2 separate regions of the Homo sapiens genome follow, and region 2 is linked to region 1. Evidence: promoter capture Hi-C in human tissues and cell types (Jung and others, 2019). All regions are on one chromosome and are shown on one strand. Each heading gives the region's core, a stretch centred on a gene start or on the middle of the fragment in contact. The rest is flanking DNA. Distances are from core to core; before and after follow the strand shown. Region 1 holds the start of ANKRD26 (ankyrin repeat domain containing 26). Region 2 overlaps APBB1IP (amyloid beta precursor protein binding family B member 1 interacting protein).

Region 1 (6,732 bases), core at 287-2,786:
TTTGTTTTTGTTTTTGTTTTTTGAGAGAGAGTCGTGGTCTCCATCCAAGAGTCTCCACTCCAGAGGCAGTGGTGTGAACCTCTGCCTCCCAGGTTCAAGTGTTTCTCCTGCCTCAGCCTCCCGAGTAGCTGGGACTACAGGCATGCACCACCACACCCAGCTAATTTTTGTATTTTTAGTAGAGACGGGGTTTCACCACGTTGGCCTGGTCTCGAACTCCTGACCTCAGGTAATCCACCCACCTCGGCCTCCTAAAGTGCTGGGACTTGACTAGCTTCATAGATCACCTTGGGGAGTGTTGAGGAGACAACATAACTTTCTAGCTGGGGTAGTGTAGGAGGAAAATTCTTGGTGACGATAGTGGAAACCACTCTCCCACATCAAAACCATTTGATCTAGCTAAGCTGGAGAGGCCTGAGAAGTGTTGTTTTGTTTTTGCTCATTTCTCACTTGGCAATAAAGACGCCTGTTCTGGGGCCAGCCACCTCCTCCACAAGGGACCCTAGAGCTGTCCAGAGCTATGGAGGTGCATTCCAGCAGCAATTTCTGCTGAGACTCCACTTGACGTCTGCGTTGCTAATTCCAATTTGTTGTCAAATTATTCAATCTAGGCTGGGCGTGGTGGTTCACACCTGTAATCCCAGCACTTTGGGAGGCTGAGATGGGAGCATCATTTGAGCCCTGGAGTCGGAGACCAGCCTGGGCAACATGGTGAGACCCTGTCTCTACAAAAAATGCAAAAATAGCCGGGCGTGGTGGCTTGCGTCTGTAGTCTCAGCTACTCACTCAGGAGGCTGAGGTGGGAGTATCGTTGAGCCCAGGAGGTGGAGACTGCAGTGAGCCGTGATTGCACCACTGCACTACAGTCTGGGCGACAAAGCGAGACTCTGTTGGGGAAAAAAAAAAAAAAAAGAAGAAAGAGATGTAACCTTGGAAAATCAAAAGCAAAAAATAAAACATAAGGCTGGGCCAAAGGCAGAGGGGTGGGGGAAGGAGGCATGCAGAAATGCGTTCTCATTTCTTCTGGAGAATGTGCATTGGTTTCTCCTCGTAAGTTTGCACTTGACACATATTGCCACGATCTCCGAAATCCTGTGCCCTCTGCACTTGACACATATGCCACGATCTCCGAAATCCTGTGCCCTCTGTTGTTGCATCTGTTAAGTTCTCATGGAGACCAGATGGCACCCAAAGGGACATGGAAGGGGAATAAACTGAGAGATAGGGAGATTCAGAGAGTTTCTTAGGGGAGTTTTCTCGGAGAAGAGGCTTTCAGCATCTTAAAACTCCACGCTACTCCAGTCCCAGTCATGCGTAAAGGCTGCTTCCCCACAGGCGCGAGGCTTCTTTTCGCAAACGTCCTGAACACTCAGCCAGACTCCCACCGACATTTGTTTGACAGGAACGCAGGGCTCGTCCCAGTCGCCGAGATTTGCGAGGTCTGGGCCTTGCACATGCGCATGGAGCACACTTGACCACTGGGCCTTCGTGCGCACGCGCGTGGACCTTGCCATCTGAGGTGCGCATGCGCACTTGTGTCTAGCGGGATCGCTTGCTTGGTAACCCGGAGGGAGAGATTGGAAACCGCGGAGTTTCCTTTGGGAGGCTGCGGCCAGCCGGGGCTGACTTGTTATGTTGGGCTCCGGAGGCCGTTAAGAGCCGAGAGAGACATGAGGTGTCTCTGAAGCCCGGTCGCCTGGGCCATGAAGAAGATTTTTAGTAAGAAGGGCGAGTCGCCCTTGGGCTCCTTCGCGCGGCGGCAGAGGAGCAGCGCGGGAGGCGGGGGCGAGCCGGGGGAGGGCGCCTACTCGCAGCCCGGCTACCACGTCCGAGACCGAGATCTCGGCAAGATCCACAAAGCTGCCAGCGCGGGTAATGTGGCGAAAGTGCAGCAGATCCTTTTGCTCAGGAAGAATGGCTTGAACGATAGAGACAAGATGAACAGGTAATAGGCGTCGCAAGCCCGGACTGAGTGCCACTGGAGTAGGCGGGCAGGAAGAGGGGCCCCTTTTGTGGGAGCCACCCAGGGCCTGGATCAGCCTCCCGCGGGCTCCGTAGCCCCTGGGACGGTGACACCTTGCAGGGCTCCAGCGCCCAGGCCGCCTTTCTGAGCAGAAAAACAAAAACAGAACTCTAGCTGGTTTCCGATCCCCCCGAAATCCCTTAGAGAGCACTTAAGTGACAATTTTAAAGTGAATTAACGAACAAAAGCACGTACAGCGTTTTATTTTTAATGTACACATTTAAGATACAATGTCATACACTTATGGAAAGGTGCATAATGAGATAAGCAGTTTCCATAATATAGCAACTTCTGGGTTAAAAATTATTTCTATAAAATCTGTTATTCGTCAGGCGCGGTGGCTCGCGCCTGTAATCACAGCACTTCGGGAGGCTGAGGCGGGAGGATTGCTTGAGGCCAGGAGTTCAAGGCCAGCCTGGGCATTATAGCGAGACCCCCCCCCCCAACTCTAATAGTCTCAGCTACTTGGAAGGCTGAGGCAGGAGCATCACTTGAGCCCAGGAGTTCTAGGCTGCAGTGAGGTATGTCAGTGACAACAGAGCAAGACCCTATCTTTCAAAAAGAAAAAGAAATAAAATGCCTTTAGGAAATAGATATACAAGTAATTTGTTTTTCTCAGCATTGCTTAAGCAGTGTATTAAGGAGAACCCATAGAATGGATTTTGTGAATAAATGTCAGTGCATGATAATATGTGACCATTGAAAGTGGCAGTAGAGGCCAGGCGTGGTGGCTCGCGCCTGTAAACCCAGCATTTTAGGAGACCAAGGCAAGCGGATATCCTGAGGTCAGAAGTTCGAGACCAGCTTGGCCAACATGGTGAAACCCCGTCTCTACTAAAAATACAAAAATTAGCTAGGCATGGTGGTGGGAGCCTGTAATCTCAGCTACTCCGAAGACTGAGGCAGGAGAATCGCTTGAACCTGGGAGGCAGAGGTTGCAGTGAGCCAAGATCGTGCCATTGCACTCCAGCCTGGGCAACAAGAGCAAAACTCTGTCTCAAAAAAAAGAAAGAAAGAAAAGAAAGTGGCAATAGATACAGAAGTGTATTGGCATGTGAGGATATACTTTGGTATCTCAAGTGAGAAAAAAAGTTTGATTATACATACAGACTGTGGTCTTGTGTTAGCTGAAAATATGTACAAAACGTGGTAAAATTTGGCCAGGCGCGGTGTCTCACGCCTGTAATCCCAGCACTTCGGGAGGCCGAGGCGGGCGGATCACGAGGTCAGGAGATCGAGACCATCCTGGCTAACACAGTGAAACCCCGTTTCTACTAAAAATACAAAAAAATCAGCCGGGCATGGTGGCGGGCGCCTGTAGTCCCAGCTACTCCGGAGGCTGAGGCAGGAGAATGGCGTGAACCCGGGAGGCGGAGCTTGCAGTGAGCGGAGATCACGCCACTGCACTCCAGCCTGGGCGACAGAGCAAGACTCCGTCTCAAAAAAAAAAAAAAGTGGTAAAATTTGTTATTTCTGGGCATTTGTATAATAAGTCAAACTTTTTTCTTTATGATTTCTGCAATGAGTATGTATAAAAGTTCTAGTGAAAATTTATTATTAATGAAGTAATCCTTGGGAAGAGAGGAATATGAATCTTGCACAGATAAAAATCATTTCCCACTTTCTTTTTTTTCTTTTTTTGGTGGATTGCTATCGTCTGACAACTTTTATCCTTTTCAGAAGTAAAGGGGATCTTGGCTGGGCACCTGTGGCTCATGACTGTAATCCCAGCACTTTGGGAGGCCCAGGCAGGAGGATTGCTTGACCCAGGAGTTCGAAACTAGCCTGGGCAACATAGCAAGACCCTGTCTCTATTAAAAATGAAAGGTAAAGCAGATCTTTGTTCTTGCCACCAAAAATTAAGAAGATAAAAAATAAAAATAAAAAAAGAAAAAGTAAAGGGTATCTTTTTATCTGTATTTATAGATTTTATGTATACATTTTATCATATACATGTTTTTATTATAGATTTATTATATATGCAAACAGGTACAATCATTTTATTTTAGTTGTGTCCTTATGACAATAAAAATACCAAATATAAATGATAATTAGGCTGGATGCAATGGCTTAGGCCTGTAATCCCAGCACTTTGGGAGGCTGAGGAGGGTGGATCACTTAAGTCCAGGAATTCAAGACCATCCTGGCCAACGTAGTGAAACCCTTCTGTAGTAAAAATACAAATATTAGCCAGGTGTGGTGGTACACACCTGTAGTCTCAGGTACTTGGGAGACTGAGGCAGGCAGTAGAATAGCGTGCACCTGGGAGGCGGAGGGTACAGTGAGCTGAGATTGCACCACTGCAATCCACCCTGGGTGACAGAGCGAGACTCCATCTCAAAAAAACAAAACAAAACAAAACAAAAAAAAGATAAATATTATTGCAAAAGAATAAAAGAATTACTCTACTTTATAAGAATTTTATTTAAAAATATTGAACTCCCTAATGATTTTTCCATTCTTTCAATCCATTTATTCATCAATCATAACCTGAATACCTGTTATGTAGCAGACATAGTCTACTATCTCTTTTTTCTTTTTTTCTTAGACAGAGTCTCCCTCTGTTGCCCAGGCTGGAGTGCAGTGGCCAGATCTCAGCTTTACTGCAACCTCTGCTTCCTGGGTTCAAGCGATTCTCCTGCCTCAGTCTCCTGAGTAGCTGGGACAGCTAATTTTTTTTTTTTTTTGTATTTCTAGTAGAGACAGGGTTTCACTGTGTTAGCCAGGGTGGTCTCGATCTCCTGACCTTGTGATCTGCCCACCTCGGCCTCCCAAAGTGCTGAGATTACAGGCTTGAGCCACCGCGCCTGGCCTTTTTTGTTTTTGAGGTGAAGTCTCGCTTCTTCGCCCAGGCTGGAGTGCAATGGTGTGATCTCGGCTCAATGCAACATCCATCTCCTGGGTTCAAGCAATTCTCCTGCCTCAGCCTCCCTAGTAGCTGAGATTCCAGGCACGTGCCACCATGCCTGGCTAATTTTTGTATTTTTAGTATAGATGGGGTTCTACCCTGTTGGCCAGGCTGGTCTCAAACTCCTAACCTCAAGTGATCTGCCTGCCTTGGCCTCCCAAAGTGTTGGGATTACAGGCGTGAACCACCGCTAGTTATAAGCATATTAATGTAAGTGCGTAGTATTTTAATAAAATGTGGTAGAATATAGACTTGATCTTTGAATTGGAAACATAACAGTAGTGGACATGAAGATTTGCAGAGCTGATTTTTTTTTCTTTTTTTTTTTTTTTTGAGATGGAGTCTCGCTCTGTCTCCTGGGCTGGAGTGAGTTGGCATGATCTTGGCTCACTGTAACCTTCTCCTCCCAGGTTCAAGCAATTCTCGTGCCTCAGCCTCCCAAACAGCTGGGATTCCAGGCACCCACCACCATGCCTGGCTATTTTTTTTGTATTTTTAGTAGAGACGGGGTTTCACCACGTTGGCCAAGTTGGTCTCAAACTCCTGACCTCAGGTGATCTGCCTGCCTCAGCCTCCCAAAGTGCTGGGATTACAGGCATGAGCCACTGCACCAGGCCAGAGTTGATATCTTTGAAGTGAGGATTTTACTTCTATGCAAATTCTTTTCTGTCAGAGGTGAATCCCTATTTTAGTCATGAATATGATATTTATTCCCCTTTCACAACAGGAACTTCATATATATGTATATAAGTGCTGTGTGGTGTTCTAAACTATTTCAGTCTTGCATTAGCATTGTAATACATAATGTAGCTAATCTGCTATGAATTTGGGAATGCATTTTATGACAAATTTACAGAGCTGTCAGGGAAGATGGAAAGTTGCTGATTTCTCATATAAAACTGTCTTCATAGAGCTTGATGTGAATCTCCTGCACTTCTGGAAGCAGGTATTTAACTCATCCCCAGGAAATCAAGCCTGAGAGAAGTTCTGGTGAGCTGCTTGGCTCCTGTGTTGAGACTGGTCTGGTCTCTTAGCATTTGTTTTGGCAAAGAATGTTTGGATGTTTATAGAGGACAGATGAGAGCTCTGGTCAAGTATGAGAGCTGTTGGTGGGAGGGAGAATCCATTTGGGATCCCATATGAAAAGTCCTGTTAAGGGTGTGAGCAGGCCTTAGAAGAGGGTAATCCAAAGTGGATCTGTGGATTCCTTAGGAGCTAAGAGGAAAGAAAGGCCAGAGTGGAGTGCATTCATTCAGGTCAAGGCAATTGCAGGTGAAAACATAGTCTACTATCTCTCAGGACCTTTCCATCTTCAAAACCTTTATGTTTGCATACCTGCCCAGCCTGAGCAAGTTGAGAGATTTAAAATTAGACTATTAGGGCAATCTCAATTGAAGCTTTTCCTCCCTCCTCTTATTTATTTATTTTTTTGAGAGGAGATTATGCTCTGACACCCAGGCTGGAGTAAAGTGGCATGATCTCGGCTTACTCCAACTCTGCCACCAGGGTTCAAGTGATTCTCCTGCCTCAGCCCCCTCGAGTAGCTGGGATTACAGGCATGTACCACCATGTCCGGCTACTTTTTGTATTTTTAGCAGAGATGGGGTTTTACCATGTTGGTCAGGCTGATCTTGAATTCCTGACCTCAAGTGATCTGCCTGCCTTGGCTTCCCAAAGTGTTGGGATTACAGGCGTGAGCCACTGCACCCAACCCCTCTTTATAAACAAAAGTGTTTCTGAAGGTAGAAAATTATAAGAAATAACCTTTAATTACCCTTTTGAAAATTTATGTCTTAAACAC
Region 2 (7,267 bases), core at 218-2,717, 630 kb after region 1:
ATTGGAAAAGTTGAATATGGACTATATATCAGAATATAGTATTAAATCACATAACATTTACTGAGCATGATCACATTTACTGTACATTTACTGTACTGTGATACATGCATTGTGTAACAAAGACAGAACGTCTTTGTTCTTAAGAGATAAATGGTGAAAAAAATAAAGCAGGAATGTAGCAGAATGTAAATAATGAGTGAATCTTGGTGAAGGGTACATGCCTGTCCATTACACGATTCTTACTTTTTTTAAGTTTTAAAACTTTTTAAAACTGTCTCTTTTCCTTTCTTTTCTTTTCTTCTTTTTTTTTTTTTTTTTTTGAGACAGGGTCTTGCTCTGTCACACAGACTGGAGTGCAGTGGTGCAATCAGAGCTCACTGCAGCCTTGAACTCCTGAGCTGAAGCAATCCTCCTGCTTCAGCCTCCCAAGTAGCTGGGACTACAGGTGCACACCACCATGCCCAGCTAGTTAAAAAAATTTTTAGTTTGAGACCAGCCTGGCCAACATGGTGAAATGCTGTCTCTACCAAAAATATAAAAATTAGCCAGGCGTGGTGGCGGGCATCTGTAATCCCAGCTGCTCGGGAGGCTGAGGCAGGAGAATAGATTGAACCCGGGAGGCGGAGGTTGCCCTGAGCTGTGATTGTGGCATTGCACCCTAGCCTGGGCCACAGAGGGAGACTCTCTCAAAAAAAAAAAAAAAAGTTTTTATAAAGACAGCATCTTGCCCAAGATGGTCTTGAACTCTTGGCCTCAAGCGATCCTCTGGCCTTGGCCTCCCAAAGTGCTGGGATTATAGGCATGAACCACTGCACTGGTGTAAGCTTTGAAACTTTTCAAAATGAAAAGCTGGAGAATAAAAGAAGCAGAACCAGCCTTTGAAATTGACTCGACCTGGGTTAAAAAACAAAACAAAACAAACAAACAAAAAACAGAGAAGGGGAAGAAGGGAGAAGAGCAGAATGAAAAGCAGTAGCAGGGAAAGACTATGCAAAGGAAAAAAAATATTATCTCTCCTGTGTACTGCTGATATATTATCTGGTCTAAATCTCATAGAAACCATGTGGGGGTAGATAATATCACTCTTTTCTTAGATGAGGAGCTTGTGGTCAGGAGTTCGAATGACATGCCCAAGATCACACAGGACATCCATGGCCGGATGGGATTTAAACGCAAGTCTGATCTCTTTCATTACACTGTTCCTGTCTGCTCCAGAAAATAAGCCATATAGACAACATATCAGGGCCTGGGATTGTGTGAAGGAAAAACACAGGTGGAACACACACTTAGACACACACAGCACATCTGACATGTACTCAAATCCACACAAAGAAAAAGCAAGGGAAGGCCAGGCACGGCGGCTCCGGCCTGTAATCTCATTCCTGGGAGGCCCAGGTGGGCAGATCACGTGAGGTCAGGAGTTCAAGACCAGCCTGGCCAACATGGCAAAACCCCGTCTCTACTAAAAATATAAAAATCAGCTGGGTGTGGTGGCAGGGGCCTATAATCCCAGATGCTTGGGAGGCTGAAGCAGGAGAATCGCTTGAACCTGGGAGGCGGAGGTTGCAGTGAACCGAGATTGCACCACTGCACTCCAGCCTGGACAACAGAGTGAGACTCTATCTCAAAAAAAAAAAAAAAAGAAAAGAAAAAGAAAAAACAAGGGAAGACACGGACACATCAGCGAGAGTCAAACAGAAACCTGCTTTCATAGAGCCACGTTCTCATCTCAAAGGAGGGAGGTGTCTGTTACATCACTGCTTCTAGAAACTTCTAAAACTGGGTTATGTCTTCATAGACATGATGGCGTTTCCGCCTCTAGAACAGATAATGTTAAGCCAAGGTCCAGATCTGGCCATGGCCTTGAGACCTACCTTTAGCTTGGTTAAAAAGGAGATGCAAACAGATGCCTGGATCTAGATGTCTTACTTAATAAACAGGCTGAAGTGGAACTTTTCTGGTAATCACAAGATTTTGAGCAATGATGTAGAAAAATTAATCTTTTCTCTCCTTCCAACTCCAAGCTGGAAATGGAGAAGGAGGAAGTGGGAGAACCTAAAATATTTTAGACTCAATTTTTCATTTGGCTTCAGCAAGGAAGACAATTTATTTTTTACTTTTTAAAAAACTTATTTTTTAAACCAACAGATACAGTTCTATGTATTTATCATGTGAAACAGGATGTTTTGAAGTATGTGTACATTGTTGAATGCTTAGTTCTAGCTAATTAACAAATGCTTTACCTCAGTTATTATTTTTGTGGAGAGAACATTCAACATCAACTGGAAGATGAACATTTTCTAGTGCAAGGAAGATTTTCCTGGGCGATTAGTAAAATTCTTTTACTTAGCATGAGCATATTAGTGTCAAATGGCTTTTTAACTTCCAGGAGCCCAGAGGGGATATTTGCTAAAGATTCCAAGCAATGAAGTAATGAACTTGCTTATTACTGGAGTAATGAAAACCAGGCCTGTCCACTGAGGTTTGGGCATCAGCCCTAGGCAGAGCACAAATTCCAGGCTTTGCTTAGAAGGCAGGATACAGCCACTGGAGAGCTGAAACCACCACTTCATACACTCTCTGAAAGGCTCAATCTACCACAGCCCACGCTAGAACTGGTAGTTGTTTTGTGAGTTGTTTCTAATTGCAAAATAAATCCACAAATTGCTGGAGAACATTAAAAAAAATCACTGAAACCAAAAGGAGAAATAGTGACAACATATTTCTTCTATTCAAGAACATACTTTTTTTTTTTTTTTTTTTTTTTGAGACAGGGTGGCTCTGTCACCCAGGCTGGAGTGCAGTGGTGCGATCTCGGCTCACTGTAACCTCTGCCTCCGGCGTTCAAGCAATTCTCATGCCTCAGCCTCCTAAGTAGCTCGGATTACAGGCATGCACCCCCAAACCTGGGTAATTTTTGTATTTTTAGTAGAGATGGGGTTTCACCATGTTGGACAGGCTAGTCTCAAACTCTTGGCCTCAAGTGATCTGCCCACCTCGGCCTCCCAAAGTGTTGGAATTACAGGCATGGGCCACTGTGCCTGGCCAAGAATGTATGTTTCTATATTTTAGTGCTTCTGAAATCATGATGGTTCACACAGTAGACTATGAAATTTGGCTACCACCAACGGGGGTCACCTATGATGTAGTTTTCCTCAACCATTTATGCGCAAACTGAGTGAAGCAGGATCCAATTGTCATTCAGTTGAGTTATTTGCATTGGTGGTAGAACACACTGCTTAACTATTAATTTAAATTTGGATCACACAACATCATTTTAAAAGCTTTCAAAAAGACTCACAATGAGACAGCGCTGAAATGCAGTTATTATACCATTTAGAGAAGACGGCTGTTCACAGGACAGGCCAGCCAATTAAGACAGCAGAAATTCCCAAAGTGCCCAGATTTTAATTTTCAAAGTCAAGAGAGACTGATGTGGCAGATTTATCCATCATGAAAGATTATCCATTAGGTACCAAATGCCTACCTAGCAAATGCTTCCTGTTGGAATTCAAGAGAAGTTGTTAAACTTCCAGCAATATATAACTCAATAATGAGAAATAAACCAACAAGAAATATAGAAACATTCATGACATTTTTTGATAAACCTAAAAATCATGTTGTGAGCTCTAAAAGTTGTAAGGAACAAGACTAAGGGCTTGAGTAACAAAGAGTTGAGGGTCCTAGCCTGTTCCATATGCCTTAGAATCTTTGTATTGTCAATGTAAAGAAGTGAAGACACACTTCTTTTGTAATCCTAAGAAGAAATGATATGTACCTCTATGAATAACTGTATGCTGTTATCTCTTAAGATCTTTTTCTTTTTGTTTTTGATGAAGTCTCCCCCTGTCGCCCAGGCTGGAGTGCAGTGGTGCAATATCAGCTCACTGCAACCTCTGCCTCCCGGGTTCAAGTGATTCTCCTGCCTCACCCTCCTGAGTAGCTGGGACTACAGAAGTGTGGCACCATGCCTGGCTAATTTTTGTATTTTTAGTAGAGACGGGGTTTCACTATATTGGCCAGGCTGGTCTCGAACTCCTGACTTCAGGTGATCTGCCGGCCTTGGCCTCCCGGAGTGCTGGGATTATACATGTGATCTTGACTGTGCCTGGCCAAGATGTTTTTCAACATTTAATGCATCATCTCTCATGTCCAAAAGAAAATGTGAATGAATGAATGAATGAATGAATGAATGAAACAAACACGATGAGGATACTGAATGTTCTCAAGATGAAAATGAAAGAATGACCTTTGGCTTTAACTGCACAGATACCTCCCTGGTTATCAGTGCAGGAGTGTTGAGGGTAGAAGCCAAACTGAACTCCTTCAGAAGTGGGTGGGAAATAGAGATAAAGACATGAGGAGAAGGTGGGTCCATACAGACCATAGCGATTGTAAAATGCTTTCCTTTCTATTATTGGGCATTATTCCAAAGCCACTTTCATGGCTCCAGGCCTCTTTCCTGTGGATGCACTGCACTATAATTTAATCAGCTCTATTGTTGAAAATGTGTAGCTTGCTCTTCTTTTCAAGATATGATGATCTGAGCCAGATGTTTTCATGTGCAGAAAAATTACATGCGGTGTGGCTCAAGGATAAAACTGGAACTATCAACCAACTCTTGCTTTTCTGTGGGGTGAGGGATTTTCTGTTTTTCTTCCCCCCGCAGCCCCCACCCATCTTGGTCAACGTTCTGCATCTGTCACTGAAAACCCCAGAGGATTAGAGCTGTTAGTAAAAATCCCAGTCAAGTCTGCTAAAGTTTGCATGAATAAGCTCAAACAGGCCGGGCACAGTGGCTCACGCCTGTAATCCCAGCACTTTGGGAGGCCGAGGAGGGCGGATCATGAGGTCAGGAGATGGAGACCATCTTGGCCAACATGGTGAAACCCCATCTCTACTAAAATATAAAAAATAAGCCAGGCATGGTGGCACGTGCCTGTCATCCTAGCTATTTGGGAGGCTCAGGCTGGGGAATCGCTTGAACCCAGGAGGCGGAGGTTGCAGTGAGCCGAGATTGCGCCACTGACCTCCAGCCTGGCGACAGAGCAAGACTCTGTCTCACAAAAAAAAACAAAAAAAGCTTAAACAGTGCAGGTCCCAAGGTGCCTTTTACCTCTCTCTGTTTGGAAGGAAGGATTTACGGTCATTTCTGTGACTGTCTGTATGTCCACAATACATTGGGTGATCCATACCATAGAAAAAACTTTATATCAGAAGAATCTGAGCTACCATATGATTTTTCAGTGACAATCCAGTTTTAATTCTTTTCCTGCATTTCTTAGTAAATATTCTCCCTTCCTCCTCAAAGATGCTACTGACAATATTTTTCACTCTGTTATTTGGAAGCAAGAAAGGAACTGAGTCTTTACCTCCCACATTCAGAATGATTCATTCATTAACATAAAACAAAAAGTAATAGTTAAGATTCCTCCCCAAAATTATCTTGCAGAATTAGCCCCGTGTGCAGTGTGGGGGTCTCTATTTTGTGCACGTATCTCTTGTGATATGTGGGGCCATCTAGGTGAGCTTCGGTCTAGAGGACCACTGAGCCACATGATGCAGACAAAACCCTTGTCCAGAGGCAAGGACAGAGTTCAAAACCCAGCCCTGACACTTATTGGCTGTGTAATCTTGGGCAAGTTATTTAACCTCTCAGTGCTTTAGTTTTTTTTTAATCTTTAGAAAAGGTGTGATGATAAGCTATTTCATGAGGTCAAGGTGAGAATTCGATAAGTTAATGCATGTGAAGTGCTTACAGGAGGCTCTGGCTTAGAACTGAAAGTTCAGTAAGTGTTGCTCTTACTATCATGAAGCCATTGGAACTGCAGTAATCATGGAGCTACCCCAGATGCCTGGACAGATGATGGGCAAGGACGCAGGCTGAGGTTGGTGAGAGATTATGGGCAATTACACAGGCTGAGGTTGGTGAGAGATGATGGGCAAGGACACAGGCTGAGGTTGGTGACTCTGACCGTGGGTTTGGATAGAAGCAGGACGTTGACTATTGCGTGGCATATTATGGATGCTCCTCAACTTACAATGGGACTAAGTCTGGAAAAACCCATCGTAAATTGAAAATATCCCTAAGTCGAAAATGAATTTAATACACCTAACCTACTGCACACTGTAGCTTAGTATAGCCTAACTTAAATGTATTCAGAACTTACACTAGCCTATAGTTGGGCAAAATCATCTAACGAACATATTTATTTATTTACTTATTTTGAGATGGAGTCTCGCTCTGTCGCCTAGGCTGGAGTACAGTGGCACGATCTTGGCTCACTGCAACCTCTTCTTCCTGGGTTCAAGCAATTCTCCTGCCTCAGCCTCCCTAGTAGCTGGGATTACAGGCGCCTGCCTCCACATCCGGCTAATTTTTTTGTATTTTTAGTAGAGATGGGGTTTCACCATATTGGTCAGGGTGGTCTCAAACTCCTGTCCTCAGGTGATCCACCTGCCTTGGCCTCCCAAAGTGCTGGGATTACAGGCATGAAACACTGTGCCCAGTCCGAGCCTCTTTTATAATGAAGAGTTGAACATCTTATGTAATTCACTGGATACTTTATTGAAAGTGTAAAGCAGAATGGTTGTATGGGTCCTTGAAATACAGTTTCTACTAAATGTGTGTTGCTTTTGCACCACCATATAGTGGAAAATCATTAAGTGGAACATTGTGAGTCAGGGACTATTAGATCCAACTGTCTCCTGACCAGGGTCCCCGCCACTTGCCCCATCCTTTCCCCACCAGAGGAACAACCTGGCCCCTGTGTTGTAGTTGGTTGGGGTTGTTGTTGGTTGTAGTTAGTGAGGAAGGGGAGATCATGAGTTGAAATAAAAGGGAAAAGGATTTAAAAAAAGAAAAGTCCTAAGTGGATTAATACAGGAACAGAAAATCAAATACTGCATGTTCTCACTTATAAGTACGAGCTGAACATCACGTACTCATGGATATAGAGATGGGAACAATAGACTTTGGGGACCACTAGAGTGGGGAAGGAGGGAGGAGAGGCAAGTTTGAAAACCTGACTGTTGGGTTTAATGTTCAGGACTATGCTCAGTACCCGGGTGATGGGATCATCTGTACCACAAACCTTGGCATCACACAATATACCCAGTGACAAACTTGTACACGTATCCAATGAATCTAAAATAAAAGTTGAAAAATAAAAATAAGAAGTTAAAAAAAGAATTAAAAAATAGAAAATGCTTATATTGGCCAGGTGCGGTGGTTCACGCCTGTAATCCCAGCACTTTGGGAGGCCAG

What was found. Contacts are between HindIII fragments. The study calls those that stand out against the background at their distance.
Region 2: a contact is called between a fragment that was not itself captured here and the fragment with the promoter of ANKRD26 in region 1, in 1 of the 25 tissues and cell types used here (lymphoblastoid cells).

The regions. Positions count from the first base shown.
Region 1 is chr10:27,095,298-27,102,029 of GRCh38, reverse strand. ANKRD26 (ankyrin repeat domain containing 26) reads left to right here and starts at 1,536. Exons shown (of 34, transcript NM_014915.3): 1 at 1,536-1,945. The coding sequence starts at 1,704. RefSeq lists a silencer at 1,690-1,869 and an enhancer at 2,040-2,099. The HindIII fragment of the contact is 17,734 bases long and covers 1-6,732 here.
Region 2 is chr10:26,469,500-26,476,766 of GRCh38, reverse strand. The region is part of intron 2 of APBB1IP (amyloid beta precursor protein binding family B member 1 interacting protein); the gene reads right to left. Among named protein-coding and RNA genes, the nearest start is that of APBB1IP, 35 kb to the right of the region's middle. The HindIII fragment of the contact is 5,435 bases long and covers 1-4,184 here.